7 separate regions of the Homo sapiens genome follow, and regions 2, 3, 4, 5, 6 and 7 are each linked to region 1. The links are contacts of gene promoters, found by promoter capture Hi-C in human tissues and cell types (Jung and others, 2019). All regions are on one chromosome and are shown on one strand. The core of a region is centred on a gene start or on the middle of the fragment in contact, and the rest is flanking DNA. Distances in the headings are between cores, read along the strand shown.

Region 1 (4,009 bases), core at 1,065-3,564:
TCCACAGTAAAGTGGCCCCAGCAGAATACTGCAGACCCATGCGTAGCCCTTGTAGCGGCGCCGACCGGCTCAGGGAATCAAATCCTCTTGGCCGGCTGGTCCAGAGGCCGATAGACCCGGGGCTGGGCTCGAACCGGTCGCCCCCCAGGCCACCTGCCTGAGCGTCCTCCGACTCCATAGAGAGTTTGGGTTCTGAGTCTGGCTGCGCGCTGTGTTTCACCGCATGAACCCCCGAATCTCAACTATTCTTTTTGTTATCAGCACTCCTTGCCTCTCCCCTCCGCTATTTTTTGGCTGAAGACGAAACTGGAGTTTGCGCCTTGAAATTGACTATATGTGAGTTTCACGGCCTGGGACACCGCAAGGACTCGGCGACGGCGAGCCCCACGGTCGCTCCTCCGCTGTGGCTGAGCCCTGCTTGGACTCATTCCTTCGGGGCCCTTGTTTCTCCCTCCGGCCTTTGTCTACCACCCCCGAGTCGGTCACCCTGCCACGCCCATTCCGGACTCCCCCAGGCCTCTCCACTCCCCAGAAAGCCCGTAAGCTACCCTCTGTTGCGGAGGATCCCACGGCCAGGGGTCGCTTCCCGCGCCGGGACTCCCCAGCGCACGAGCTGTCCCCGGGACCCAGCTCCCGGCTTCCCGCCCCTCGAGGGTCGCGCTCGCAGGGGCGCGCACCGATCGAGGGTCCCAGACTCCGGAACTGCCCTCTCCAGGCCGCGGGGCGCCCTCCTGCGCGCACGACCCCCGCCTCTCCAGGGTGGGACGGCGTCCCCCCTTGCCGTCGCTCCAGGGAGCCCGGCCGCCGCGCCCTTCCTCCGCGGGCTCCCACCCCCATTTCCGGGGTCTCCTCCCTCTCGCCCGCACCTTCCCGCGCTCCCTCCCCGCCCTCCCCGCCGCCCGCCCGCGCTCACCTGGTTGTTTTTGCAGAGATCAGCCCACATGCTGGTGCCGTCCCCTCCGCGCATCAGGACGTGGTAGGTGAAGAAGTAGATGCCCGGGATGGAGCAGGTGAACTTGCCGGTGGTGGGGTCGTAGTGGTTTCCGAGGTTGGTGACCACGTCGTCGAACTTGAGCACCTCGTAGCCTTCATGCTGCCGCTTGAGGCCGGCGTAGAAGGCGATCTTGGGCACCGTGCTGTAGGTGGCGGCGCTGATGGCCCCGGCCGCGTTCAGGCCGGGCGCCCCGGGCGGGCCCGGCAGGCCTTGGCGGCCCGGCTCGCCCTTCTCGCCCGGGGGCCCCATGGGGCCGGGTGGCCCGGGCTCTCCGGGGGGCCCGCGCGGACCCGCCTTCCCGGGCCTGCCGGCCTCGCCTTTGGGGCCCTGGATGAAGGTGGGCAGGGACTGCATGAGGCCGCGGTCGGGCGTGGCAGCGGTGCTGGGCGCCTTGGTGCCCCCGTAGGGGTCGCAGACCATGCGGCAGGTGCCCAGCATCTCGTAGTGCGCCGACGTGCCGGCCGAGCTCACCAGCACCGGGATGAGGATCACCAGCAGCAGCACCATCACCACCCCCAGCGCCCCGGCGGCGATCAGGCGCCTCCTGCTGCCCACCAGCCGGCTCAGCGCGGGGCGATCCTCTTGTCTGCTTTTGGACAGAATTTTGAAGGTTGGGCGGGGACCTCTTCAGAGCCGAAAACAACCCCCTGCGAACCCCAACTCCCCTGGGCGTGCGTGCGCCGGCCGCTGCTGCCGACTCCTGCTCCCCCCGCGGAGGCTGCGGCTGGGGAGGGAGCGCGGGCGCCCAGTGACTTGAGCCGAAGTCCCGAGCCCGGGGTGGGGGCCGGGGGAGGGGTGCGCGGGGCGCCCTCGCCCCCCGCGAGCTCCTTCGCACCTGTGGCTGCAGCCGGCGCCGGCGCGGCCACCGGGAGGGCAGAGCCAGCCGCCGCCTCCTGAGCTCGCCCGGGCAGCTCACACTTTTATGCCGCCGCCGCCTGCGATCGACTTTTCCGTTTTTGCAGACTGCGCCTGTTCGCACCAACTTTCCGTCTGAAGTTGCCTTTTTCTGCCTCCTCCTCCTCTTCTTTCGCTCGCTCAGTTCGCCCGTCCGCTGCCTTTTTTTTTTATTGCCTCCTTTCTCTCTTCCTCCTTTGCCACCACCACAACTCGAATAGACGCGCACCCCAAAGCCCCGCGTGGGCCCGGGCGTCCCCCGGGTGCGCCCAGCGGCGGCGGCGGCGGGCACGGTCGGCACGGCGAGGCTCAGAGCTGGGGCGGAGGAGCGAGCGAGCAGCGGCGAGCGCCTCACGGCCGGGAGCGGAGCGAGAGAGAGACTGAAGGCAGAATTCTGCCTGGGTACCACCTGCCAGGAGAAGAGGAGGCTGACAAACGCGCGCCGGAGCAATTTATAGGCACCCAAGGCACAGAGGAAGGGGAGCCGCTTTGGCATCTCATTGCAGCATCTGCTCTGCTCATCCCACTCAGAGAGAGTTTGGCATTACTCTGACAATGTGGGATTTTTTTTTTTTTTTCGGCCTCTCTTTTTTTCTCTCTCTGCACATGGATGAACAGTGAGATTCTGAATACTCCCTTGCTGAACCAAGCGATGGCAGGTCCTGCTGGACCCACCTGGGGAAGGGAGACAGCTGTGCGACAGCTTTCAGAGCTCAAGGGTCACACCTAAATCCCCGATTTCCCCACTGCCAGCAGCCCCAGTTGGAGGGTGGAGGTGAAGGTTGAAAGGAGGGTGGCTGAGTTGACAGTTTCTTTGCTAGCTCCTCTACAATCAGTGCTTCAGGTGTTTTCAAAATGCCACTGTTAACAGAAGGAGGGCCTTTTAGAATTTTCCAGATGGTAGATGTGATTTTCTTTTAACCTGATGGTTTTCCTCCTCTGCCTTGTAAATGAATAAGATGTTGCCCCAAGAACAGTGAGGTATGTTGAAAAGCCAAAGAACATTTGTGAATGATTTTAAATGAACATGTCCACCGCCTCTGGGGGAGGAGGGGGTTGGTCCTTTTTACAAATGCTGCACCGTGGTGAGTGCATACATACGTACTGTGCTTACAGTCTTACAGTTCTAGCAGTCTTTCGGGGGATACCGCCAATGGCCCTGAAGTTGCGTTTACTTAAAGTCGCTAAATGTACAAGAAATAACCACTTGTCAAAATGGCGTCAAAAGATCAAGCAAGAAGCTTTTGCACAAGTGCTGGGCAAGGTCTTTTCCTAGCATATGGAAAGAGTTCTATAAGCTCCATAGCAGATTTCCCGAATATACATTGAGGGAGGGGAGAAGTAGGAGAAATACAAGAAAGAAGAGCCCCCATTCTCAGTGGGTGAGCTGCAGAAGGAACAGCATGGTTTATCATATTACTGGAAGGCCTCCAGGGTAGATATCAGGCAAGTTACCCCACCAACAAATACATAAGACACACAAGAATGGCTTTAAATAAATAAGTAGAATTGAATCCTAAATCATACTTTTGCATTCAGGAGCAACAGATGTCAATCAAACGTGGGTGACATTTGCTTGTCAATACGAGGATGATGGCTGGGAAGACGGTGACTTATTACATCAGGGTGAGAATCTGAAATGAGAAAAGCAGGAACAAATAAGACTACAGCAAGCAAACAGTAACATCCTGGGTGACGATCAGCAGCCTGTGATCTTGTCTGCGGGTGTCACAGCATGGACTTCTCCTTTCCTCCCTGTGCCTCAATCTCCCCGCCCCCCAGCCTACTCCAGTCCACCCCACCAATTTAGTTCTTTCTTTCTTTCTTTCTTCTCTGTTTCAAAACAAAATAAGGTCAAACGAGCAGACAGAAGGAAACAAAGACTGAATGATTCTTTTAAGAGAAATGTCAGTAGCTCCTTCAGGCCTTGGCTGGGAGAATCAACCCTAAAAGCTGTGCTGTGTGGCTCAGCGGGGTGGGGGTCTCCACCTCCTGGCTACTGAGAGAGCCACACTGCTCCTGGTATTGGAAAATAGGGCTTCCCACTTCTCAAGCCCTTAACTTTTATTTTAGGGTAGTGGTTTTATAAATGCGCGCCTATTGCTTGGGCATAATTATACA
Region 2 (4,009 bases), core at 1,072-3,571, 240 kb after region 1:
TCAAAATAATGTGTCTGACCAAATTCCTTGTGGGAGCAATAAACTAAAAATCACTCCATGAATGAGATTTTTTTTCATGACTGCTCCCTATTATATTGGCAAATACGGCCAGACGCAGTAATCCCAGCACTTTGGGAGGCGGAGGCAGACGGACATGAGGTCAAGAGATTGAGACCATCCTGGCCAACATGGTGAAACCCCATCTCTACTAAAAATACAAATATTAGCTGGGCATGGTGGCGCACGCCTGTAGTCCCAGCTACTCGGGACGCTGAGGGAGGAGAATCGCTTGAACCCAGGAGGCGGAGGCTGCAGCTAGCCCAGATCGCCTGGTGACAAAGCAAGACTCTGTCTCAAAAAAAAAAAAACAAAAACAAAAAAACCTGGGAAATACCTGGCCAGCATCTATTGCCACTCCACGTCAATCACTAACTTAACTAGAGCATTTAGTGGCTACAAATTTAATGAACATATGACTTTGCACAGAGACTGCAGCATGAGTGGGCAGTTTCATCTGATAGCTGCGCCAATGAAGATGAAATTCTGATGCCGCAGTTCCGGTTGGGGTCTATGGATCTATTTGTCTGTTCTCCCATTGCTATAAAGGAATGCCTGAGGCTGGGTAACTTACAAGAAAAGAGGTTTAACCGACTCGTGGTTCTACCGGCTGTATAGGAAGCGTGGCAGCAGCTGCTTGTGGGGAAGTCTCAGGGAGCTTTTACTCATGGTGGAAGGCAATGCAGGAGTATGCTTATTACATGGCAGGAGCAAGACAGCACAAGGGGGGAGGTGCTACGCACTTTTAAACAACCAGGTCTCACAGTAACTCACTCACTATCACAAGGACAGTACCAAGAGGGGATAGTGCTAAACCATTCAGGAGAGCTCCGCCCCCAGGATCCAATCACCTCCCACCAGGCCCCACCTCCAACACTGGGGATTACAATTCCACATGAGATTTGCTGGGGACACAGACCCAGACCATAACAATGGGGTCTGAAGGAGCCTTCAGACCCAGAACCATCTTCCCAGCTTGGCCGCTAACCTCAGGGGTGACCAGGAGCCAGGCCCTTAGCCCCTTTGAAAAGGCTTGGCTTCCTCTGTATACAATGAAAGCACTAAAACCTGCCCTCCGTACCTCACAAATGTTGAGAGGGTCAAGTGCTGCAAAGCAATACACAAAAATAGATTATCATTATTATTATTTACTGCTCCCTGGTTCTGCAACCTCAGCTGAATCAAAACTCCTCTCTTCACCTTTGCATAAAGAAAGACAGGACTGTCACCTCTCAGCTAAAGAGAAGAATTGCATAAATGAATGAAGCATCATTAGGGAAAATATTCTTCCCTCCACGGCACGAAGGTGCTTTGTAAACTATTCCAATTTAACACAGAGAGGAAAAAGAAATCAGCCATATTACCACTTGTCCGCCAGTTCATGCTATGCAAATAAGTCCCTTCTCGGTCAGCAGAACTGAGATAAAATTTTACTGGACAGAAAATACAATAAAAATTTAACTTCCTTATTGCGCCAACAATTAGCCTCTCAATTAGCTCTCAAATATGCACTAATGTAGGCCACTGAAAGAATATATTAAAACAATAAAATTTTTTTAAGACCCAAAACATAAAAAGAAATTAGAAATCCATTTCTGTGCAATAATATAAAAGGAATCCCTCCCCTGGCCTTACCCGGCATGCCCCTTCCACTCTCTTCCTCTCCATCCTTTCCGCTCCACTGATACTCACCCAAGGTTCAGGTGTTTGAGTTTCTGAAGGCTACTGATCTGTGTGGGCAGCTCCTCGATTTGGTTATTAAAAAAGTTGAGCACCTCCAAATTCTTCAGTTCTGCGATGTTCGGTGGCACCACTATGGAAACAAAAATGCTGAGTGTGAATCTGGGAATGGAACTCCTAGCAAGGGATGGCAGCGGCACATTTTGTTTTTCTTTCAAAGCAAAGAAAGACATAACTTCAAAAGGGCCATCGAATTCACCTACCGGTCTTATTTATTTTTTACAGGTTTTTCATAAGCAGTCACTCACTTCTGAGTGGCTGCTTAAATGCTTCTTCATATATGGTTAGCTAAGTGCTTGGCATAGTTTGTTTCAGATGGACAATGAGGGGGGAAACAGAGCAAAAATGCACAACAGAGAATTTCTGTACCATAAACAGCCTATAAAAATGAATATTAAGAAGCATATATACTTATGGTTGTCATATACGATCTTCTAAGTGCAACTTTTTTTTTCCTTTTGGTTTTCTTGCATTGCCGTCAGAAGAAGAAATGCTTCTTCGTATATGATTAGCTAAGTGCTTGGCACAGTTTGTTTCAGATGGCTAATGGGGGGGGAGAAACAGAGCAAAAATGCACAAAAGAGAATTTCTGTACCACAAACAGTCTATAAAAATGAGTATTATGAAGCATATATACTTATGGTTGTCATATATGATCTTATAGGTGCAATTTTTTTTTTCTTTTGGTTTTCTTGCATTGCCACCAGAAGAAAGATGGAGATCTCCAAATCCCTTCCGGGATGATGTACATTGAAGCTGCTTAAATAACCCAGTATCTGAAAAGCTGTCCTCTTAACATTGCATTAATAACAATATAAGCTCAATTTTAAATGATGAAATATTCACCCTCCCTAGTTTCTGATTTTGGCCTCTGGAGTAATTTAACTTGATCAGTAACACACACACACATACATACATATACACACACAAAGGTTACATCAGATTAGCAAGAGATCGATACACTGTTATTATATAGAAATACAAAAAGTCAACTCAGTAGCATGCTATGAATACTAGTATTCAGATCAAAGGTGAAAATCAGCCACTGGGGACCTGAAAGGTTCCTCCTTCCCTAGAATATATACATTTGAAAATACAAATGTAAAAGCCAAAGGCATCTTTATCTTAAAAGCACAAACTGTAAATTGGCAGCAGCAGGAGTTTCCATAGACTGTAATTCATCTATCCCACTTGCTATTCAGTCTTTCTACAAACATTTCTGTGGGTGATAAGCTTGGCCATGGTTCACGTAAACTCTGATACCAAGACTATCCAGATAACTAAGAACATGAACAGGGGCGTGGAACTCAGCCTGAGAAAGTGTGATGTCTCTTATCAGTCAGGTTTACTTCCCATCCCATCTGCTTCCTCCAGGGGTGCCCCAGGAGGCTGGGAGACCAACCTGCTTCCTGCAGTCAGACCTAAACTCAGACCCGGGAGCACCTGTGATTAGAACCACCACAAAGGTGTGTGTAAAATGCCAAACATACATCTAAAATATTTAAGCAGCTAGCCATTTCAAGACGACCAATTGATAACTCCCAGGGGAACAAAAGTAAAGGGACAGGCACGTTGCTTATTATAGTTTTGAGTCATCATTTTGAGCTTTCTGAAATGTCTAAGGTATCACTGGCCTTTTAGAGGTAAGGCTTGGTGAAAGGTAAAAGAGATGCTTTCACTGGAAGAAGGGACTGTGAAGAATACAGATTACTCTGAACTGGGGCACACGGGCAGGGAGCAGTGGTCTAGTGAGCGGCCCCTGCGCGAGCTCCGGAAGTGGCCGTTGATAAAAGAACAAGTTTTCATCGGGTAATCTAGACAGCTCAAAGTTCCTCCAGAACCCTCCCTCTGGGATACCTGCAGGAATGCAAATGAACCCTACCTGTACAGTGTGGCTGCAAATGTACATTCTTTCTTAGGTGCACAGTCCATGGAACACTTCTGTGTAAATGAATGGTATTCACTGTGTGTAAGGGATTACCAAGAAAATCACCAGGGCCGGGAGCGGTGGCTCACACCTGTAACCCAGCACTTTAGGAGGCCGAGGTGGGTGGACTATCTGAGGTCAGGAGTTCAAGACTAGCCTGACCAACACGGTGCAACTCTGACTCTACTAAAAATACAAAAATTAGCTGGGCATGGTGGCAGACGCCTGTAATCCCAGCTACTCGGGAAGCTGAGGCAGGAGAATCGCTTGAACCTGGGAGGCAGA
Region 3 (4,009 bases), core at 575-3,074, 240 kb before region 1:
GTGAGAACCAGCTATTCAAAGAGCCTGTAAACCTAAACTGACTTTGGGTGTTGTCTCTCACTTTTTGATTCCAACCGCTCCTGATTTTCTGTCTTCTTCTTAACTAAGACTTACTGAGTGCTGTTAAGTTTTCAATGGATAAGCTATGTCTCAACTTTTCAATACCTTGTTGCGGTGGCTCCGCCTGCAGTCCCAGCACTTTGGGAGGCTGAGGCAGGAGGATTGTTTAAAGCCAGGAGTTTAAGACCAGCCTAGGCAATATAGTGAGACCCTGCCTGCACAAAAAAATTTTAAAAAATTCACCAGGCTTAATGGTGTGCTCCTGTAGCCCAGCTACTTAGGAGGCTAAGGTGGGAGGATCACTTGAGCCTGAGAGGTCGAGGCTGCAGTGAGAAATGATGGTGCCACTGCACTCCAGCCAGGATGACAGAGTGACTGACACTCAGCCAAAAAAAAAAAAAAAAAGTATGCACCAGGAAGACAAAATATAATGCCTTATTCACTAACGCATGTTGAAGTATATGTACATATATACACAGAATTGTAGGCCTGTACCTATTTCTAAGCCATATCCTGTACATGATGTGGTTTCAACATTCCAGAAACCTAGAAGTCCACAATCCTGCTCAGCCTTGTCTTCAGTTTCTGATCTTGAACAGTCTTTCAAAGACCACAGCCATGAGAAGGTCAACTAGAGCATCTAAAGAAGCAAAAGTTATGAGTCTCAAGTCTATGGCTAATTTACTTCAAAGCCTGATCTTCAGAGAAAGATATGAGAATAAGGAAAGATTTCTAATGTGTTATTCTATTGTGTTTTATCATTTTGCACCTTTTTTTCTTGTTTCTCATCTGTCTTACTCACTTTGGTCTATAAGCTGTGTGAGAACAGAAAATATAACTATCTTAGGGCAGGCGTGGCAGATCACACCTGTAATGCCAGCACTTTGGGAGGCCAAGGCGGGCAGATCACTTGAGGTCAGGAGTTCAAGACCAGCCTGGCCAACATGGCAAAACCTCATCTCAATTAAAACTACAAAAATTACCCGGGCATCATGGCACACACCTGTAATCCCAGCTACTCAGGGGCTGAGGCAGGAGAATTGCTTGAACCCAGGAGACAGAGGTTGCAGTGAGTTGAGATCATGCCACTGCACTCCAGCCTACATGACAAAGTGAGACTCTGTCTCAATTTAAAAAAAAAAAAAAAAAAAAAAAAGAAAAAATATAACTATTTTGCTCATTAATGTGTACCCAGAAATTAGGTCTAGCCCATAGTGGGCAGTCAGACAATCTTACTAAAATGACTGACTGGTCTAGGGGAGAAGGGAATAGAAAGAAAAATTAGTCCACTGATACAGTTTGGCTGTGTCCCCAGCCAAATCTCACGTTGAATTGTAGTTCCCATAATCCCCACATGTTGTGGGAGAGACCTGCTAGGAGATAATTTAATCATGGGGTGATTATCCTAATGGTGTTCTCCTGATAGTGAGTTCTCACGGGATCTGATGGTTTTATAAGGGGCTTTTCCCCCCTTTTGCTCAGCACTTCTCCTGCTGCCACCAGGTCCAGAAGGGCATGTTTGCTTCCCCTTCCGCTATGATTGTAAGTTTACTGAGGCCTCCTAAGCTATGCTGAACTGTGCATCAATTAAACCTCTTTCCTTCATAAATTACCAAGTCTCAATATGTCTTTATTAGCAGCGTGAGAACAGACTAACACATCCACCCATGGAATAAGAGGGAGATGAGTAAACTAGCTAGGAGGTTAGCGAGCACAAATGCGGGAACCATTCTGCAGCATGGCCACTTGAGTAGCAAGATAATGCTGGGAGGGTGGAAGAAGGAGAACTTGGGACTGGGAAACCATTGATGGCTGAGCACAGTGGCTCACATCTGCAATCCCAGCACTATGGGAGGCTGAGGCAGGAGTATGGATTGAGGCCAGGAGTTTGAGACCAGCCTGGGCAACATATAGTGAGACCCACGACTCTACAAAAAAATTTAAAAATTAGTCAGACATGGTGGCATGCACCTGTAGTCACAGCTACTCAGGGGACTGAGGCAGGAGGACCCCTTAAGCCCAGGAGTTTGAGGCCGTAGTGAACTAGAGTCACGCCACTGCCCTCAAGCCTGGGGTGAGGCTCTGTCTCAAAAATGCTTGTTTTTTGTTTTTTTTAATTTTTAAAAAGAGAGAAAATTAGGGCATTTTCTAGGTAAATAGTAAGGAGATAAGCTTAGTGACTTTTCTGCCCTCACAAAGCCAGTTAGCAGGCAATGTAGAGAAGAAAGCGGACCACCTAAGTCCTGGTTAACTACCTTTTTTCTCAGAAGCAGGGGCCGCTAAGGGAGAGATGTGAAGGTCAAGGAAGCTCTGAGCTCCTGACAGCCGCCCTTCCAGCCTTCTCCTGCCTTCCATAGAGAGATGCTATGGACTCTTGGTCCAGAGACTCAAATTCAAGGAAAAGAAGAGGCAACATTTGCAGTGTTGATCCTTGAGTTGAACAAAGGTGAGAGATAAGGGAAGAGGGTCACAGGGGCTGGGTGAGAAGTAATGTGGAGAGGGTGTGATGCTGGCGAGTTGGAAGGGACAGTGGTTGGGGAAGGTTCTGGGCTTCCGGAAAGAGCAACTGTGCCGCGTTGTCAGTGTAGCAGCTGGAGAGTGTGGGAGGACTTTAGGGAGACCACAGAGGGGGAGTTATAGGAAACACAGCAGCACTGGGAAGCTGTTGCCTGCTATGCAGCAAGGCCATGAGGCCCTGGGCCCTCCAGCCAGTCCCTGATCATGAGTTTGCGGCCTTGTTAGGCCCTGGCCGCGATGCCTCATGATCCTGCTGATGTTTCTGCCTTCTCTCCAGCCAGCAGCCAGCCCCTCTCAGGGGCTTCTCACTCCACTCCATCAGAAGCATACCTCAAGCACCCATTTGCATGGTCTCCTTTTTAATTCCCAAAGTTCAAAATCTCCACCTCCGTATCTTGTGCCACTCTAGCAGTTGCTGCTTACCCTAAAGCCAGCAAATTACAGTGACAAGAACAGAATTTCTCTTATGCTTAAAAAAAACTTAAATAAAGTCTATACAATATAAGGGTGAGAGAAGGTGGCATTTCCACAGACTTAGATAATAGGTGCCCTATGACAGAATGATCCTCTAATCTATCCTGGAAGCTACAAATTCTACTTGCAAAGTGATCTGTAACCACCTTGGCCCACCTGAAGGTGACAGTCCAGAAATGCAGCTCAATTTTGTGGTAATCCTGAGGTCACAAATAAGCTGTTTTTGTGCATGCGACTGTATCCTTTGGTGTTTGCTCTATTTGTAAACTGTGTCAGTATGATCGCTTGTAGCATCTTGGAATTATCTGGAAATATTTTTCAGAGCAACCTCAGAATGCTTTTCACAAATGTCATTCCCTTATTCTTTGAGGACTTTCATTGAGAAGACTCTTAGGGGCTGGCATAAAGTAAAATCCATTCTTTTCTTCAAAGCACTTCCTAGTTCCAGGAGATTCTCTTTGCACGTATACAGACTCTCCTTCCCTTCCAGGTAGAAGCTGTCTCCGTGGTTTCCTCTCTGCACCCACTATTCTGAGCCCATTTCCTCCTGGGACTGTCCCTTCCTGGGACTGTCCTTTCCTGGCTCCTTGGATCTGTCACCCCCTGGCCACACTTCTATTCTTTCCCTTTGCTTGAACAGTATCAGATGGGGAATATTTTTTTCTTTTATGTTGTTGTTTGTTTGTTGATCCAAGGTCTCACTCTGTCACCCAGGCTGGAGTGCAGTGGCACTATCATGGCTCACTACAGCCTCTACCTCCTGGGCTCAAGTGGCCCTCCCACCTCAACCTCCCAAGCACCTAGGATCACAGGCAGGCACTGCCACGCCTGGCTAATTTTTTTTTTTTTTGTAGAGACAGGGTTTCACTATGCTGCCCAGGCTGGTCTCAAACCCCTCGGCTCAAGTGATTTACCCACCTCAGCCTACCCAAGTGCTAGGATTACAAGTGTGAGCCAC
Region 4 (4,009 bases), core at 1,510-4,009, 220 kb before region 1:
GTTATTCACTTTTAGTCTTCTTTTTTCAAATGTTTAAACATAATTCCACACTTTCTTCCTTTCAATAAAATTTTTCCAGATCTAACAAATAAAATACCACTGTAAATGTATGCAAACAAAATATATATTAAGTTGATGAGAATGTCTATTTTTACTTACATGGAGTCAATGAATTATGTGTTCTCATTTATTTAAGGCTGTTTCCTTGTCCACCGACTAAGGTACTGCACATCTTAATTAAGTTTTTATTAAATATATTCCCATATACTGTCACTGTTTACCTCTTATTTGGGACCCTAAAGCTACACTCTCTTAAAGGTGAAACACTAGGGTTATTTTTGTTAAAGTGAAAATGGCCCCATCACCTTTATGGTTAACATTGCTTTATAAACATTCTGCAATAAACTAAGACTCTTAAAAAGCAATGTAAGTACAAATATTTAAAGTAAGGAAATGACTTTTTAGTGATGAGCAGATGCTTGGAATTCTACCTTCAAGAAAATCAACTCAACTTATGATAACTAAGGTAAGAGTTTTGTAAGATGGTAAGTTACAATAGGATTAAATAAAATTATGACTGTAAAGTACCTGGACCAAATTGCAATGCTTCACTGTTTGTTAGTTTTTAGTGTTATGGCCTTAGCTATTCAAGCATATACTGGTGCACATTTGGGAGAACATTTCTATGTGGAAATGTGGAAGAGGAACTGATGGGCCATGGGCCATGCACATTTTCAACTCCACCAGATCCTGCCAAATGGCTCACCAATTTACACCCCCATGAATACTACGGTGTATACACACTCGTGTGTCACTTAACAATGAGGACATGTTCTGAGAAATGTGTCGTTTGATTATTTCGTCATTGTGTAAACATCATAGGGTGTATTTAAACAAATCTAGATGGTATGGCCTACTGCAGACCTTAGGCTATATGGTATCATCTATTCCTTTGGCTCCTAAGGCTACAAACCTGTACCCATGTGACTGTAATGAACACTGTAGGCAACTGTAACACAGTGGTATTTGTGTATCTAAACATATCTAAGGTACAGTGCAAGGTACAGTAAAAATATAGAATACAAGAAAAAAATATAAGACACTTAGCATGAATAGACCTTGCAGGACTGGAAGTTGCTCTGGGTGAGTGAGCGAGTGACGAGTGAAAGGGAAGGCCTAGGACGTCACTATACACTACTGTAGACTTTATAGACACCGTACACTTATGCTACACTCTATTTTAAAAACAGTTCTTTCCTCAATAATAAATTCGGCTCAGCTTACTGTAACTTTTTTACCTTATAAACTTTTAAATTTTTTTAACTTTTTGACTCACAATAACAGCGTACAACACAAACACTGTACTGCTATACAAAAATACTTTGTCTTTATATTCTTATTTTATAAGCTTTTTTCTATTTTACCTTTTTGTTTGTTTTACTTTTACCTTTAAACTTTTTTGTTAAAAACTAAGACACAAACACACCTATTAGCCTAGTCCTACACAGGGTTGGGATCATCAATGTCACTGTTTTCCACCTCTGCATCTCATCTCACTGGGAGGTCTTCAGGGGCAGTAACACACATGGAGCTGTCATCTCCTATGATAACAATGCCTTCTTCTAGAATATCTCCTGGAGGACCCGCCTGAGGCTATTTCACAGTTGGCTTTTTTATACATATAAGTAGAAGGAGTACACTCTAAAATAACAATAAAAAGTAAGGTAAATAAGTAAACCAGTAACATAGTCATTTATCATCAAGCATTATGTACTGTACGTAATTGTACGTGCTAGATTTTTATACTATTAGCAGTAGAAGTCTGTTTACACCAGCGCCATTGCAAACACATGAGTAATGCATTGTGCTACAACGTCACTAGGTGACAGGAATTTTTCAGCTCCATTATAATTATAATCTTTTTTTTTTTTTTTTTTTTAACAGAGTTTCACTCTTTTTGCCCAGGCTGGAGTGCAATGGCATGATCTTGGCTCACTGCAACTTCCACCTCCTGGGTTCAAGTGATTCTCCTGCCTCAGCCTCCTGAGTAGCTGAGATTACAGGTGCACACCACCACATCCAGCTAATTTTTTGTATTTTTAGTAGAGACAGGGTTTCACCATGTTGGCCGGGCTGGTCTCGAACTCCTTACCTCAGTTACCCACCTGCCTCGGCCTCTCAAAGTGCTGAGATTAGAGGCTTGAGCCACTGCACCCGGCCTCCATTATAATCTTGTTGGACCACTGTTGTATATGTTGTATATGTGGTCTGTCATTGATCAAAACATTAAGTGCCACATGACTGTATTTTAAATAAATCACTTTACACACTAATTTTCAAGATCATATCACTCCAAAAAGCAAGACAAACCTTTTTCTTGACAGCAGTTAAAAATCTATAGAATTCTCTAAACAAAATTTTTCAACAGAGAAAATTATATTAACTGATTTTTTTCTGCCAGAGATGAAAATTTTCCGGTGTCTAGGATAACTCAATTGGACAAGAATAACTGAAAAATACCAACATTCGTACATTTTCTTGTTAAGTTTATCACAACTTACTAAATGCTATATTATATGCTTAGTTCTATAAATGTATACATGTATATACACTAAATACTGCTATATATATATATAAAGCCATATATATTTAGTAACATATCATCTTTTCTCATGTTGATGTACTTTGATCATTGATGAGCTCAATAAAAACTGAAGATAAAAGCTTAGAATCACCATAACAATTGTGTAGGGAGAGAAAATATAGGAAGAAGTAGGAGAATATAGCTTATAAAACAATCAAGGGGGAATATCATTGCTATCAGTATTTTCATGAAGAAAACATGAATACTGTAGAAGGAATATAGAAATATACGATGAAAGTCCTAACCCAGTAAGTAGTTGATTCAAATGTTGCCTAATAAATCCAAAACTTATTTAAACTCAACGCAATTTAAGTAAACCCATACTCCACTCAGCTAACACACAGCAGATTGTAATCCTGTCTCCTTGCCAAAAATGAAAGTTTGTCTCTGTTCCTTCCATAAGAACTTTGGGTTTTACTATATAGCATTTCAGGATTAGAACTGATCAATGCAAAATTGCACATGTGGGCCGGGCGCAGTGGCTCACACCTGTAATCCCAGCACTTTGGGAGGCTGAAGCAGGCAGATCATGAGGTCAGATCGAGACCATCCTGGCTAACATGGTGAAACCCTGTCTCTACTAAAAATACAAAAAATTAGCCAGGCATGGTGGCGGGCGCCTGTAGTCCCAGCTACTCAGGAGGCTGAGGCAGGAGAATGGCGTGAACCCAGGAGGCGGAGCTTGCAGTGAGCCGAGATTGCACCACTGGACTACAGCCTAGGCAACAGAGAAAGACTCCGTCTCAAAAAATAAAAAAATAAAAATAAAAAAAATAAAAAATAAAATAAAATTGCACATGTGATCTAGGCCAGAGGCAGTGGCTCATGCCTGTAATCCCAGCACTTAGGGAGGCTGAGGTGGGCGGATCACCTGAGGTCACGAGTTCGAGACCAGCCTAGCCAACATGGCAAAACCCCATCTCTACTAAAAACACAAAAATTAGCCAGGCATGGTGGTGGCTGCCTGTAATCCCAGCTACTCAATAGGCTGTGGCAGGAGAATCGCTTAAACCCAGGAGGTGAGTACAGTGAGCCAAGATCACACTATGGCATACCAGTCTAGGTGACAGAGTGAGACCCTGTCTCAGAAAAAAAAAAAAAAAAAAAAAAAAAAAAAAAAGGAGAGAAAAAGAAAGAAAAGAAATTGCACCTGTGACCTGCCAATTGTACCTGTGACCTGACATATCAGTAAAATAGAGCATCGAGCCTGGAAACTGCCCACATTAGAGCAATGTTTCTAGTGTGTTTAAAACAAGCAGTGGGCTAGTCTAGCAGGAGGCATCAGTGGCCAGTGGGCCATAGCAGAGCCTGGGCAAAAAGGTCTGGGAAATGAGTAAAACATGTTTAGACAGTAGTAGGCAGATA
Region 5 (4,009 bases), core at 1,045-3,544, 200 kb before region 1:
ATTAGTCTACTCTCATGCTGCTGATACAGACATTCCCAAGACTGGGTAATTTATAAAGAAAAAGAGGTTTAGGCCAGGTGTGGTGGCTCATGCCTGTAATCCCAGCACTTTGGGAGGCTGAGGTGGGCGAATTATGAGGTCAGAAGTTCAAGACCAGCCTGGCCAACATGGTGAAACCCTGTCTCTACTAAAAATACAAAAAAAAAAATGGCTGGGCATGGTGGCGGGTGCCTGTAATCCCAGCTACTCGGGAGGCTGAGGCAGGAGAATCGCTTGAAACAGGGAGGCGGAGGTTGCAGTGAGCTGAGATCATGCCACTGCACTCCAGCCCAGGCCATAGCGTGAGACTCTGTCAAAAAAAAGAAAGAAAGAAAGAAAGTAAAAGAAAGAAAGAAAGAAAGAAAGAAAGAAAGAAAGAAAGAAAGAAAGAAAGAAAGAAAGAGGAAAGGAAAGGAAAGGAAAGGAAAAGAAAAAGAAAAGAAAAGAAGTTCAATGGACTTACATCCATATGGCTAGAGAGGCCTCACAATCATGGCAGAAGGCAAAAGGCACATCTTACATGGCGGCAGGGAAGAGAGAAAGCTTGTGCAGGGAAACTCCCCTTTATAAAACCATCAGATCTCATAAGACTATTCACTATCACGAGAAGAGTGTGAGAAAGACCAGCCCCAGTGATTCAGTTACCTCCCACCTGGTCCCTCCCATGACATGTGAGAATTGCAGGAGCTACAATTCAAGCTGAGATTTGGGTGGGGACACAGCCAAATCATATCACTTGGATTCTCAAACTGACTAGGAAACAGTTGTCCTTCCTAAAACTTTAATTAAAGAACTCTTCAGTCAAAAGTCTCATTGCTCTAAAGAGACCCCATAACCTATGGCCACCATTTCTGCACTCATGTCCACCCTAATATATTTTATACCACAGTATAGAGAATCAGATAGACCAAACTTGGAATCAGCTCAGACTTCCACTTCAACTGAACATGGGTAATTCCTTCAGCATCACTGACCTGGACAAAGAGAAGTTGAAGGGATGTATACGTGGAATCAGTTCACACAACATCTTCATGCTGAAACATGAACCCTGATATGTAGTCCTTTTCTTTTCAGCACTTGGATGGAGGCAGGAAGCTCAACTGCCTTCAATGCCCCCACCCATCCCTCCTAAGCATTAATAGAGAACAGAGAGAAGCAGCATGATGATCAGCATGAGGCCTGAAGTCTCTTGGAGATTCTAGCCAGCTGGTGGCCCTAGGGATGAAAGAATCCATATTCTCAGGATGTGTGAACAGCCCACTTATGGGTTTTAACCAGTGAAAATCAATAACAGGCTTAGAGACCTTGCAAATTACCCTCCAGTTCTCTAGCAGTTACTCATGCTCTGGGGATCAGGAGGATATAGCATGAGGTGCATTTATACATAGTTACAAAGAACTCAGCTCTGTTGGTAAAATTGTATGGTGTTAACTGAAGACAGAAGTTTGTTCCATATCCCAGGAGCCAAGTTTACCCTTACCCAATTCCCTAATTAACGTTAGTTTCCACATTGGCTATATTATCTCCATATACCCTTTCCATGTAGAAGAACTTCACTGTCATATAGATGCCTCTTTGAACGTTACTAAAGTTTCTTTAAACCTTGACTTGACAGCAATTCCACAAGGTATTAAATAACATCCAATACTTTGTGGAATGCCTCCATTCCCTATTGTCAAAATATTTGGAGAAGGTACTCACCGTCCAAGTACATAATGGAGTAAATGAGTCAGGAAAGAACGTTTTTGGTAATTAACACATAAGGTGATATTAACATTAATATGTTCTGAAGGCGTCTGGACCTCCGTTTTCTCCCACACACATTGGCGTAATTTCAGATAGAATAACTTTTGACATTTAATCTACTTAGCAAAAAAAAGTTCTTTGTAGTTATCAGTGCTATTAACTTATTTGTTTATTTTTGAGATAGAGTCTCACTCAATCTTCCAGGCTGGAGTGCAGTGGCACCGATCTCGGTTCACCACAACCTCTGCCTCCCAGGTTCAAGTGATTCTCCTGCCTTAGCCTCCCAAGTAGCTGGGATTACAGGCACCCATCACACCCGGCTAATTTTTTGGGTTTTCAGTAGAGACAGGGTTTCACCATGTTGGCCAGGCTGGTCTCAAACTCCTGACCTCAGGTGATCCACCCAGCTTGGCCTCTCAAAGTGCTGAGATTATAGGCTTGAGCCACTGCCTCCAGCCAATTCGCTTATATTTATAGTTATGTTTATCCTGGGTACATGGCCAGCTACCTGCCCACTTTAAAGTTAAATTTTTAAAAAATCTGACTTACTGTAGCCAGTGAAGGTGAGTGGCTCTAATGTACACCAATTCTTGGGAAACACCTATAAGATATATACATGGTCTGCCCTGTTCTTTTCCCCTGGCATAGGTAGCAGGGATACCCCTGTAGCTGGGGTGAAGGTCCCCAAGCCTGAGTCTCAGAGTGAGGACAACAGGAAGCAGAGACCCTGCTGCTCTGAGATGAACAACTAGTATCACCAAGAACCCGATCTGTTCTCAGCCTACACTTTCTGTGGAAATGGACGAAACTCATCAGAATCACACACACACAAAATACCTGTGTGGCCCTAAGGTCCAAACCCCTTTCATAACAGTGTGTATTTCACAGTCCACGTGGGTGCTTAAGGTGCTTGAGATTACTGGAGTCATTACCATATTACAGCCACACCTCTCCTGATTGACAAAAGACAACTTTAAACTTGCCACAGTTTCTCTCACAATGAGTCAATTGACAATGAAATGGAGACAGTGTATTTTAATGAAGAAAACATGAGTTTTGTAATCAGCTTGATTTGGTTGAAATCAAAAGAGTTTACCAGCCAGGAGCAGTTGCTCATGCCTGTAATCCCAGCACAGGAGGCTGAGGTGGTAGGATTAGTTGAGCCCAGGAGTTTGAGATCAGCCTGAGCAATGTAGGGAGACTCTGTCTCTACAAAACATAAAAATAAATTAGCCAATTGTGGTGGCATACACCTGTGGTCCCAGTTACTCAGGAGGCTGAAGCAGGAGGATTGCTTGAGCCAAGGAGGTAAGGCTGCAGTGAGCTGTGATTACTCCACTGCACACCAGCCTGGATGACAGAGCAAAATCCTGTCTCAAAAAAGAAAAATAAAATAAAAAGGGAGTTTATCACTTACTGTTTATGTGATCTTATCAAGCCACATAGATATTTTGAACTTTACTTTCTCCAACTATCAAATGGAATAATACTATACATCTTACCGAGTGCAGCAAAAAATCAATGACATAATGTTAAGTATCAAGCTCAGTGTATGTAGTAACCATTACTGTCTATCCTTTTCTCCCACACTCAGACCCCTTCTGGTAATGAAATACTGGAAGAACTGACTAGATCAGGAATGGACAAACTATAGCACACAGGCCAAATCTGGCCCACTACCTGGTTTTGTAGATAAAGTTTTATTAGAATGCAGCTATACTCATTTATTTATACATTGGCTATGACATTTTGTACACTACAAATTCAGAATTAGAGTAGATGCAACAGAGACTGTATAGCCTACAAAGCCTAAAATATTTACTCTCTGAACCTTCACAGAAAAAAAAAAATTGCTGACCCCTTGACTAGATTCATTCATAACCTGGACAATTCAGTTTCTCATATGAATCAACTCAGAGCGTCTTTGTCCTGAACAAGTCAATACTGTGAAGTGTACTAGTTGTAGATGATATTTCCCCTCCAAAGAGCTCATTGGAAACTTGCTCACTGCCTGGGTGAGACTCTGCCCTAGATTTTACAGTCAACTGTAAAATGTACTAAAAGGCAGCCAAAAGATTGCTCTACATCTAGCTCCTTGAATATCACAAATTAGCACTTGTGTATTCACTTAATAATTCATTCAACAAACATCTGCTTAGATGCCAGTTATACACCAACAAACAGTGCTACGCAATGAAGATAGGGAGATAAACAAGGGGCAGGC
Region 6 (4,009 bases), core at 973-3,472, 160 kb before region 1:
AAGTGATCCTCCCACCTCGGTCTCCCAAAGTGCTGGGATTACAGGCATGAGCCACTGCACCAGGCTAAACAGAACTTCTATTGTCAAATGTTATAATGCCCAATTATCTCTAGGGCTTTTTCCAAGTTGCAATTACAATGATACCTAGGCAATTAAGCAATTCTGTTGGCGTGAATTTCTACTATTCTTCTGTGTTTAAAGAGATGATGAAATTGGTTGTCCGAGGTCATGTGCAAGGCCAGTACTTAACAATCACTCTACAAATAAACTCCTCAGTATTTGTGATAAAATTAAGTAAGGGACACATTGAAGAAGACAAGTCTCTGCCTCATGGTTGCTTAGACGTTGAGACAGACTTCTAGTAGCACCCTTCTCCCTGGAAGCACAGAGTAAGAAATCTCCAGACAATTAATAGCTAATAGTGGCTGGGTGCAGTGGTTTACACCTGTAATCCCAGCACTTTGGGAGGCCAAGGCAGGAGGATCACTTGAGGTCAGGAGTTCAAGACCAGCCTTACCAACATGGTGAAACCCCATCTCCACCAAAAAAAAAAAAATACAAAAATTAGCCAGGAATGATGGCAGGCACTTTACCCCAGCTCCTCTGGAGGCTGAGGCAGGAGAATCACTTGAATCTGGGAGGCGGAGTTTGCAGTGAGCTGACATCCTGCCACTGCACTCCAGCCTGGGCAACAGAGTAAGACTCTGTCTCAAAAGAAAGAAAGCTAATGGTGAATCGACAGTAATCTAAGTTTTCAAACATGATAATATTGAGGTCTCTTTTCTGTTAGTGCTTAAGCTGCTTGCTGCTTTGATCATCTGAAGCTGCTAATGAAAGCTTTATTTCACATTTTGAATTCATACCTGCTCATTTGACATTTATTGCTGCTGATGTAAAAGATATTTCACCAATAATACAGGCTTGCTCTGCTTTATGGTCATTTGTATGTCTAAGAATTCATCACACTCTAAGAGCAGAGAGTAGCAATTTAAAATAAGGCAACATAATATGGCTGGTGATGAACTATTATTCTCTATTAAACACATTTTAATAAATATCCATGTATTAGTTAACTATAAAGGAAGTGTTTAAGATTAAGAAGAGCATATGTGAAAGACCCTATCTTCCTATTACTATAGCACCACTCATATTTGTAGGGTTTGAGACAGGGTCTCACTCTGTTGCCCAGGCTGGAGTGCAGTGGTGCCATCATAGCTTACTGCAGCCTCCAACCCCTGGGCTCAAACGATCCTCCCTCCTTAGCCTCCACAGTAGCTAGGACTACAGGGGCACACCACCACACCCAGCTAATTATTTTTATTTTTTAGTACAGACAAGGTCTCACTATGTTGCCCAGGGTGGTCATGAATTTTCGAGCTCTAGCTATCCTACAGCCTCAGCTCCCCAAAGTCCTGGGATTACAGGCATGAGCCACCACATCCAGCTCTTTGTGTAGGCTTCTATTTGAAACACAATTGCTTCTATATTGGCCATTAGGACACTTTCAGCTGCATAAAATAAAACACAGCTCAGAACGGCATGAACAATAGACACTGGTCACAAGGATTGAAGCCTAGAGGTAGACCTTCCACAGAGCTGCTTAACTTAGCAGTGATGATATCATCAAACATCCAACGCTTTCTTTTCTGGAGTGACCAACTTGTCCCAGTTTTCTGGGACTTTCCTGGTTTTAGCACTTCAAATGAGAAGTCCTGAGAACCCCCTTAGTCTGAGATAAACCTGGATGGTTGGTCACCCTATGAGTCCTTTCACCCTCAGGGTGCTAGCTTTGGTCCTGGGGCCTGTGCTCTCATTGCTAAAAATGACTACATCAGCTTGAGTTCTCTATATTCAAATTCATTCAGAGACAGAAAAGACTATTTCTCTTTCTGTACCTCTATTTTAAAGCATTAAACTGTCCTAGAAACTGTCCAACAGATTTCCCCAGACGTCCCATTGGTCGGAACTATCTGACGTCCCCTTTCCTCAACCAGACCCTGGCTAAGGAAAGGGAATTGCCAGGACAGGTGTACCCTAATCAAGATTCAGCTGCCTGGGGATGTGGACGTCATCTTCCCCAAGCAGTGATGGGGAAAACAAGAAAAAGAGGCCAAGGCAGGAGGATCGCTTGAGACCAGGAGTTCGAGATCAGCCTGGGTAATACAGTAAGACCTCTGTCTCTAGAAAAAATACAAAAATTAGCCAGCCATAGTGGTGCATGCCTATAGTCTTAGCTACTGGGGGGCTGAGGCAGAAGGATTGCTTGAGTGCAGGAGTTCGAGGCTGCAGTGAGCTATGATGGTGCCACTACACTCCAGCCTGGGCAACAGAGCAAGACATAAGTAAAGAAAAACAAAGAAAGGTACTGGTGGGTGATGATGCATTTGGACAGTGTCCATGCAGCAGTTATTGTTGGTTGCCTACGAATTCCATCTTTTTAGTTTTGTCTGCCTCTCCATCCCTGTTGATTCCTTGGGGTAAGGAGAACTCTTTCCCTTTCATGTTTTAGGATGCCTGGGATGGGTGCGGGGGACGGGCGGGGAGGAAAGGGCCCTTGCATAATTTGCAAAGCCTTCTTTGGTTATTCTGAGATTTTTTTTTCTCCTCTCTGCATCGTGATCATAAGCCCCAATAACACAAGCTAGACTCCCATGCCTTCAGATAAATGATGCTGGTATTTCTGGAGTCTCACTTCTCCAGAATATCAGACTCCAGCTTTGCAGACCTGAGATTTTTTTATAAATGAAAACCTGATTGGATCTACCTTTACCTACCTATGAAATGTCACCAATTAACCTGGTATCAAAGCAGAGTGCAGTGGGTATGTAGCGGCATCTTCTGTGAGATCTGGTGCTCATTAGGTAAGCTACCTTAATGTTTCCATCATAGCAACCTACTCAATTAAAGCTTCACTAGGACAATCACCAATTTATCCATAAAGTGCCCCTCACTGGAGGGAACCTTTCACCTTGCCTTCCAGAGCCAGCAAGACTCATTTAGAATTCATTTTCAATTTTCTCCCAGATTCTCTATCTCCAAAACATAGGATTTAAGACTTAATGCTCCCAAGCTGCAGCATTTCAAAGACAGACTGAAGTAGCATCTAAGTTCCAGGTTAAAAAAAAAAAAAAATCCAAAGGTGTCAAACATTAAAGTGAGCCACTTTTCTGCCTAAACTGATAGATATCTTTATGAGACTTAAAAATGACTGAAGCAACACCTTCAATATTTTCAATGAACTGCAATACAATGACCCCGTTAGTTGCTTTTTCAGTATGTCCGTGCTGAAGATTTTTACCTGCACGCTCTCTCCCTCTACAGAGGACCTTACTGCCACATCTGCCATATCACATCAACAGTAGTGAATGTCCTTTGCAAATGCAAATATTTGTAAAATGTTCTCAGACTGGGTGGGGACAGAGTTTGCTGATAGTTTAGAATAATTACAGGGGCTCTATGCACAAATGTCAACACAGAAAAAATTAGCAGAAAATGAGGCAAAGTGACAATACAAATGGCCAGATTCCCTATTATCACTTGCTGTACATCTCACAAGACAGCTGATTCCCCGCTCTGTATGGGTTCCAGCATCCAGTGATTTATTGGGTAATTCAGCATTTGCTAGCATGTCTTGTGCTAATTAAATGCATCGCACTCTATTCAGAAATGTCACAATTGATTTGTCTTCTGCAAGCACTGACTTTATTTCAATCTTCTGGAAAAGACTTTATGAGCCCCAGATAACTTATCCTGGCACATTCATCTCCCAGGGTAGCTTCTGGGAGTGGGGGCAGTAAGACAGGAAACCCCTAGCGAACATTTAATGCAAATACATTTGAGGACGTCTTATTTATCCATCATATGCCATGTGTCTGAGTAATAGCGTAGGTATGGCAAAATTACAAACTGCTCCATTAGCCTGTAAAAGCATTTAAACATGACAGAAGTTAATGTGAAATGATATTGGCAGAACTTATTGGATGCTGTTAGATCAATCCCAGAAAACATG
Region 7 (4,009 bases), core at 819-3,318, 160 kb after region 1:
ACCCTTGAATGTCGCATGTGCCTGCAACCCTAGTATGAGGATGAGGCCTTGTAGGAAGCTGAATTTGATTCAAGAACCAGAAAAGTCAAATGATCATGTACATTCCCCTAAACTTCATACACTGGCTTCCCTTTGAGGGTATCAACATAAACTTAACATTTTCTTATTTTCTTCCCAGATGTTACTCAAAGCAACATGGAAAATGAGACAACGTTCTTTTAAACTGGCCAGAACTTGATTTCTGGCTTTGTCCTCAGTTGTTTTACTTAAACGATGACTGTCCGTTTTCTCGTCTGAAAGCAGAGGCAAACTGTGAACCTACAGGAGATGAATTCTGTAAAGAATTCACCAGGGCCTGGATGTGCATGGTAGGAACACAGAAGTCAATAAATGTCAATTCTCTCTCCTTAGTGTAATTGAGGCAAACTGTATCACACACTAATCTACATGAAGAAAATAAAAATGGGGGTAGGAAGTTGGGAGTAGCTGACTTTATAATGCAGGTCCTGAATTTTTCTAGTAAAAGCCACTCAATACTCTTAGTACTGAAACCAGAGTAAACCCAAGTCGTCTTGTATCATGCATGTGTACAGTGGCCTGCAAGGAGCTGTTTCCCCATTTGCAGTTCTCTTCTAACCATGTTCCAAAAATTTATAGAGAATATTTTTACTTTATGGCCAGTATTTTTTCTTGTTGCCCTGTCTCAACTAAACTTAGAAAAATGAAGCAGAGACTGTCTTCAGAAAACTTAAAATAATATAGCTCCAAGATTATAAGTATTTCAAAACAAAAACTTTTATTGACAACATTTACATTTCTTAGGAATTATCCAGAATTTAGCACCAAAATACATTTGTTAGTTGCAAGACACATTCTATTAAAAGATCACACCACTCACGCAGTTTCTATTGGGAATGCACAAGAACAGATTAAACATGCTCATAATCCCACATAAACAGTCTGAAACACACACGTCATCTTAGTTGACAGCTTAAAAAAATTAAGGAGAAAAGAAACAAAAAAAAAATCCTTGTCTCACTGTAGGAATCCGAAGCGCATTTCCATCCTTTAAGACACAATCAATTCTTTCAAGATCCATTCTTCCTTATTTCAAACCCTCATGCCCTTTCAAAAATAGAAAAGCTTTTCTCTCACTTAAAGTCTTAGGTGGGAAAATACCCCTAACAAAACAAAACAAACCCAACGTAGAAATCCATTTTCTTGCTTTTTCTTTATTCTTCTCTTTTGTTGGTCTTCATGAATGACCATCTTTTCTCATTTGATTCTCAAGGAAAAACAGACTGCCACAGATTCTTCCAAGAACATAGGAAAGCCTAATGTTATCTGACAGGTGTTATAAACAGTGGAAGATTTCACAATGCTTCAGCCAAGAATTGGGATGGTCCATGCATTAAGCGAGAAACCTTCTCTCAAGCTGTCTTTCAAATTGTCTCTTTCCAAGATTCGGGACTCATTTTACGAGGTGATATCACCTTGAAAATTTTTAGTGTACCTGATCAAAGGGAGACTAAAAAGGAGGACTTCCACACAATCTTCAAATGAATGAAAATAGGAGATAGTGTAGACAAAACCAGTTACAAAGCCACATTCTTTGTGGTTTCTTCCTTTATACATTCATGGGGAAGTAAAAACTTCCTACTGGGGAGTATTTTCTTTTTTTAAGAAATAATCTTTTCAATAGTGAATACATGTGAAAATAGGACATTCAATAGGTACCACAGGATAAAGAGTGAAGAGGATGTGCCCACTCCTCCCTGTCTCTTGCCATCCAGTTTCTTTCCCTAGAGATAACCACCATTACTACATTACTAGTTTATTGCCTATCCTTCAGGAATATTCCATCCACTTACAAGCACAATCACGCATTCCACATGCCCCATGGACTACTCCATCATGGAAAAAGAGAAGGCAGACAAGTGAATCACAGATCCCTCAGATTTGAATTAAAAAAAAAAAAGTCTTGCTTTCAAACATAATTAGTTTATTGGTTAAGGAAATGTTTCATTTGCACCATAAGAGTAATGTGGTAAAAAGATCTATAAAAATAACGAAGCACCATAGGGAAGTCATAATCTAAGCTGAGTATTAGATAGTGAGAACACATTTTAATGTTTCCAGTACTTTTTATTACCTACCACCAAAAACAATGAACTGTATAACTTGGAACACTCCAGACCCCAGAATGGTCTTACTTTTCAGAAATTAGGGTGACCTGTCAGAAGTTATATAAGACACTGGGGATGTCATGTGCAAAGCCCAGTCAAGAAGGAATCTTGCTTTCAAAAAGACTTCAGTCTCTTACAGGAGAAAAAAACACATACTTAACTACTAAAATACAGGTAGTATTCACACCAATAAATATTGAGTGAGAAACTTACATACAGTACATACAAGGCATACAATGTCTGACACCTGGGAAAGAAGTGATAGCCACTGTTATTATTAAAATTACTACTAATGAAAGTAGAGGCCCTAAAGAAAGATGATAAAAGGAGCTTAGAGTTGATGGGCAGTAGGGAAACCTTCCAAGAAAAGATCTCTGAGGAAGCGATATTTAACCTGACACTTGAAGAATAACTGGGCATTTAATAGGTAAAGATGTGAAGAAAGAGCATTCCAGACAGACAAGGCAGCACACGTGGACGTGAGGTGGAAAGCAGGTTGTATCTCTGCTGGGATGTAACCCGGCCTTGTCTTTCTGGGTCCATTCCCAGCAGCTCTGTCTGAAGGCTCTCTATTGCCAGCTCAGCTCCCACGTGGCCCACCATCACCATCCTTCTGCCCTAGAGGATACTGTGATGCAGGAACACTCAGGGCAAAGATACGGTGATGGAAAAACTCCCCTCATCTGGCACAATAAAGACTCAAGTTTTTTTTTTTTTTTTTTTTTTTTTTTTATGAGACAGAGTCTCACTCTGTTGCCCAGGCTGGAGTGCAGTGGCACAATCTTGGCTCACCGCAATCTCTCCCTCCCAGGTTCAAGCGATTCTCCAGCCTCAGCCTCCGGAGTACCTGGGATTACAGACGTGCACCACCATGCCTGGCTAATTTTTGTATTTTCAGTAGAGATGGGGTTTCACCATGTTGGCCAGTCTGGTTTCAAACTCCTAACCTCAAGTGATCTGCCTGCCCTCGCCTCCCAAAGTGCTGGGATTACAGGTGTGAGACATCGCACAAAGCCAAAAACCGGATTTTTAAGAAATCTGGTCTCTTATTACACCTTTAACGGGGTATCAAAAACAGTGCCGAGAATACAGCAGACACAGGCCTGTGTCTCAGGACAGAATGTACACGTGAAGCCTGGACATAAGAAAGGCAATCTGAATACCATTTTCCCATGACATTCCAAAGAGCTCAAGTTTAAAAAAATAGTAAGAAGAAGAAAAATAAAAAACAAGGACTGTGTTAGTTCATTCTTGCGTTGCTATAAATACCTGAGGCTAGGCAATTTATACAGAAAAGAAGTTTAATTTGCTCATGGTTCTTCAGGCTGTACAAGAAGCATAGTGCTGGCATCTGCTTGCTTCTAGGGAGGCCTCAGGAAGTTTACAAACATGGCAGAAGATGAAGGGGGTGCAGGCATGTCACGTGGCAAAAGCAGGAGCAAGAGGAAAGGGAAGGGGAGGGAGGGAGGTGGCACACACTTTTAAACAACCAGATCTTGTGTGAACTCAGAGCAAGAGCTCACTCATCACCAAGAGGACGGCAAAAGCCATTCATGAGGGATCTCCCTTCTGATCCAAACACCTCCCACCAGGCCTCACCTCCAATGCTGGGGATTGCATTTCAACATGAGATTTGGGTGCGGACAGATATCCAAACTATGTCAGGAAAAAATGAAACAACAAAACAAAACAAAGAGCTCAAGTTTAGCACCTTGTTCCCAAGGGAAAGGGCTGAGCTCAGTAACTCTTAATTTTGGATGACAACTCTAATAAAATCCAGAAGAAAATGGAGATACTGCATTAAAATAAATGCTATAGGCTTA

What was found. Contacts are between HindIII fragments. The study calls those that stand out against the background at their distance.
Region 2: a contact is called between a fragment that was not itself captured here and the fragment with the promoter of C1QL3 in region 1, in 1 of the 25 tissues and cell types used here (lymphoblastoid cells).
Region 3: a contact is called between a fragment that was not itself captured here and the fragment with the promoter of C1QL3 in region 1, in 5 of the 25 tissues and cell types used here (aorta, dorsolateral prefrontal cortex, mesendoderm cells and 2 more).
Region 4: a fragment that was not itself captured here is called in contact with the fragment with the promoter of C1QL3 in region 1 in 1 of the 25 tissues and cell types used here (dorsolateral prefrontal cortex).
Region 5: a contact is called between a fragment that was not itself captured here and the fragment with the promoter of C1QL3 in region 1, in 1 of the 25 tissues and cell types used here (aorta).
Region 6: a fragment that was not itself captured here is called in contact with the fragment with the promoter of C1QL3 in region 1 in 4 of the 25 tissues and cell types used here (H1 embryonic stem cells, bladder, heart left ventricle and 1 more).
Region 7: a fragment that was not itself captured here is called in contact with the fragment with the promoter of C1QL3 in region 1 in 2 of the 25 tissues and cell types used here (heart right ventricle and thymus).

The regions. Positions count from the first base shown.
Region 1 is chr10:16,519,565-16,523,573 of GRCh38, forward strand. It overlaps C1QL3 (complement C1q like 3), which reads right to left and starts at 2,315. Exons shown (of 2, transcript NM_001010908.2): 1 at 914-2,315. The coding sequence starts at 1,501. RefSeq lists enhancers at 1-365, 366-866 and silencers at 1,166-1,225, 1,536-1,755, 2,026-2,255. The HindIII fragment of the contact is 8,174 bases long and covers 1-4,009 here.
Region 2 is chr10:16,762,641-16,766,649 of GRCh38, forward strand. It overlaps RSU1 (Ras suppressor protein 1), which reads right to left. Exons shown (of 9, transcript NM_012425.4): 4 at 1,750-1,870. Among named protein-coding and RNA genes, the nearest start is that of RSU1, 53 kb to the right of the region's middle. The HindIII fragment of the contact is 4,126 bases long and covers 259-4,009 here.
Region 3 is chr10:16,281,403-16,285,411 of GRCh38, forward strand. LINC02654 (long intergenic non-protein coding RNA 2654) reads left to right here. Exons shown (of 4, transcript NR_184075.1): 2 at 2,328-2,506. Among named protein-coding and RNA genes, the nearest start is that of LINC02654, 5.4 kb to the left of the region's middle. The HindIII fragment of the contact is 7,682 bases long and covers 1-4,009 here.
Region 4 is chr10:16,299,109-16,303,117 of GRCh38, forward strand. No RefSeq gene overlaps it. Among named protein-coding and RNA genes, the nearest start is that of LINC02654, 23 kb to the left of the region's middle. The HindIII fragment of the contact is 4,128 bases long and covers 696-4,009 here.
Region 5 is chr10:16,323,723-16,327,731 of GRCh38, forward strand. No RefSeq gene overlaps it. Among named protein-coding and RNA genes, the nearest start is that of LINC02654, 48 kb to the left of the region's middle. The HindIII fragment of the contact is 4,027 bases long and covers 282-4,009 here.
Region 6 is chr10:16,364,426-16,368,434 of GRCh38, forward strand. No RefSeq gene overlaps it. Among named protein-coding and RNA genes, the nearest start is that of PTER, 71 kb to the right of the region's middle. The HindIII fragment of the contact is 5,747 bases long and covers 1-4,009 here.
Region 7 is chr10:16,676,980-16,680,988 of GRCh38, forward strand. All of the region lies in intron 8 of RSU1 (Ras suppressor protein 1), which reads right to left. LOC124902385 (a long non-coding RNA gene) reads right to left here. Exons shown (of 2, transcript XR_007062073.1): 2 at 778-4,009. Among named protein-coding and RNA genes, the nearest start is that of RSU1, 140 kb to the right of the region's middle. The HindIII fragment of the contact is 9,054 bases long and covers 1-4,009 here.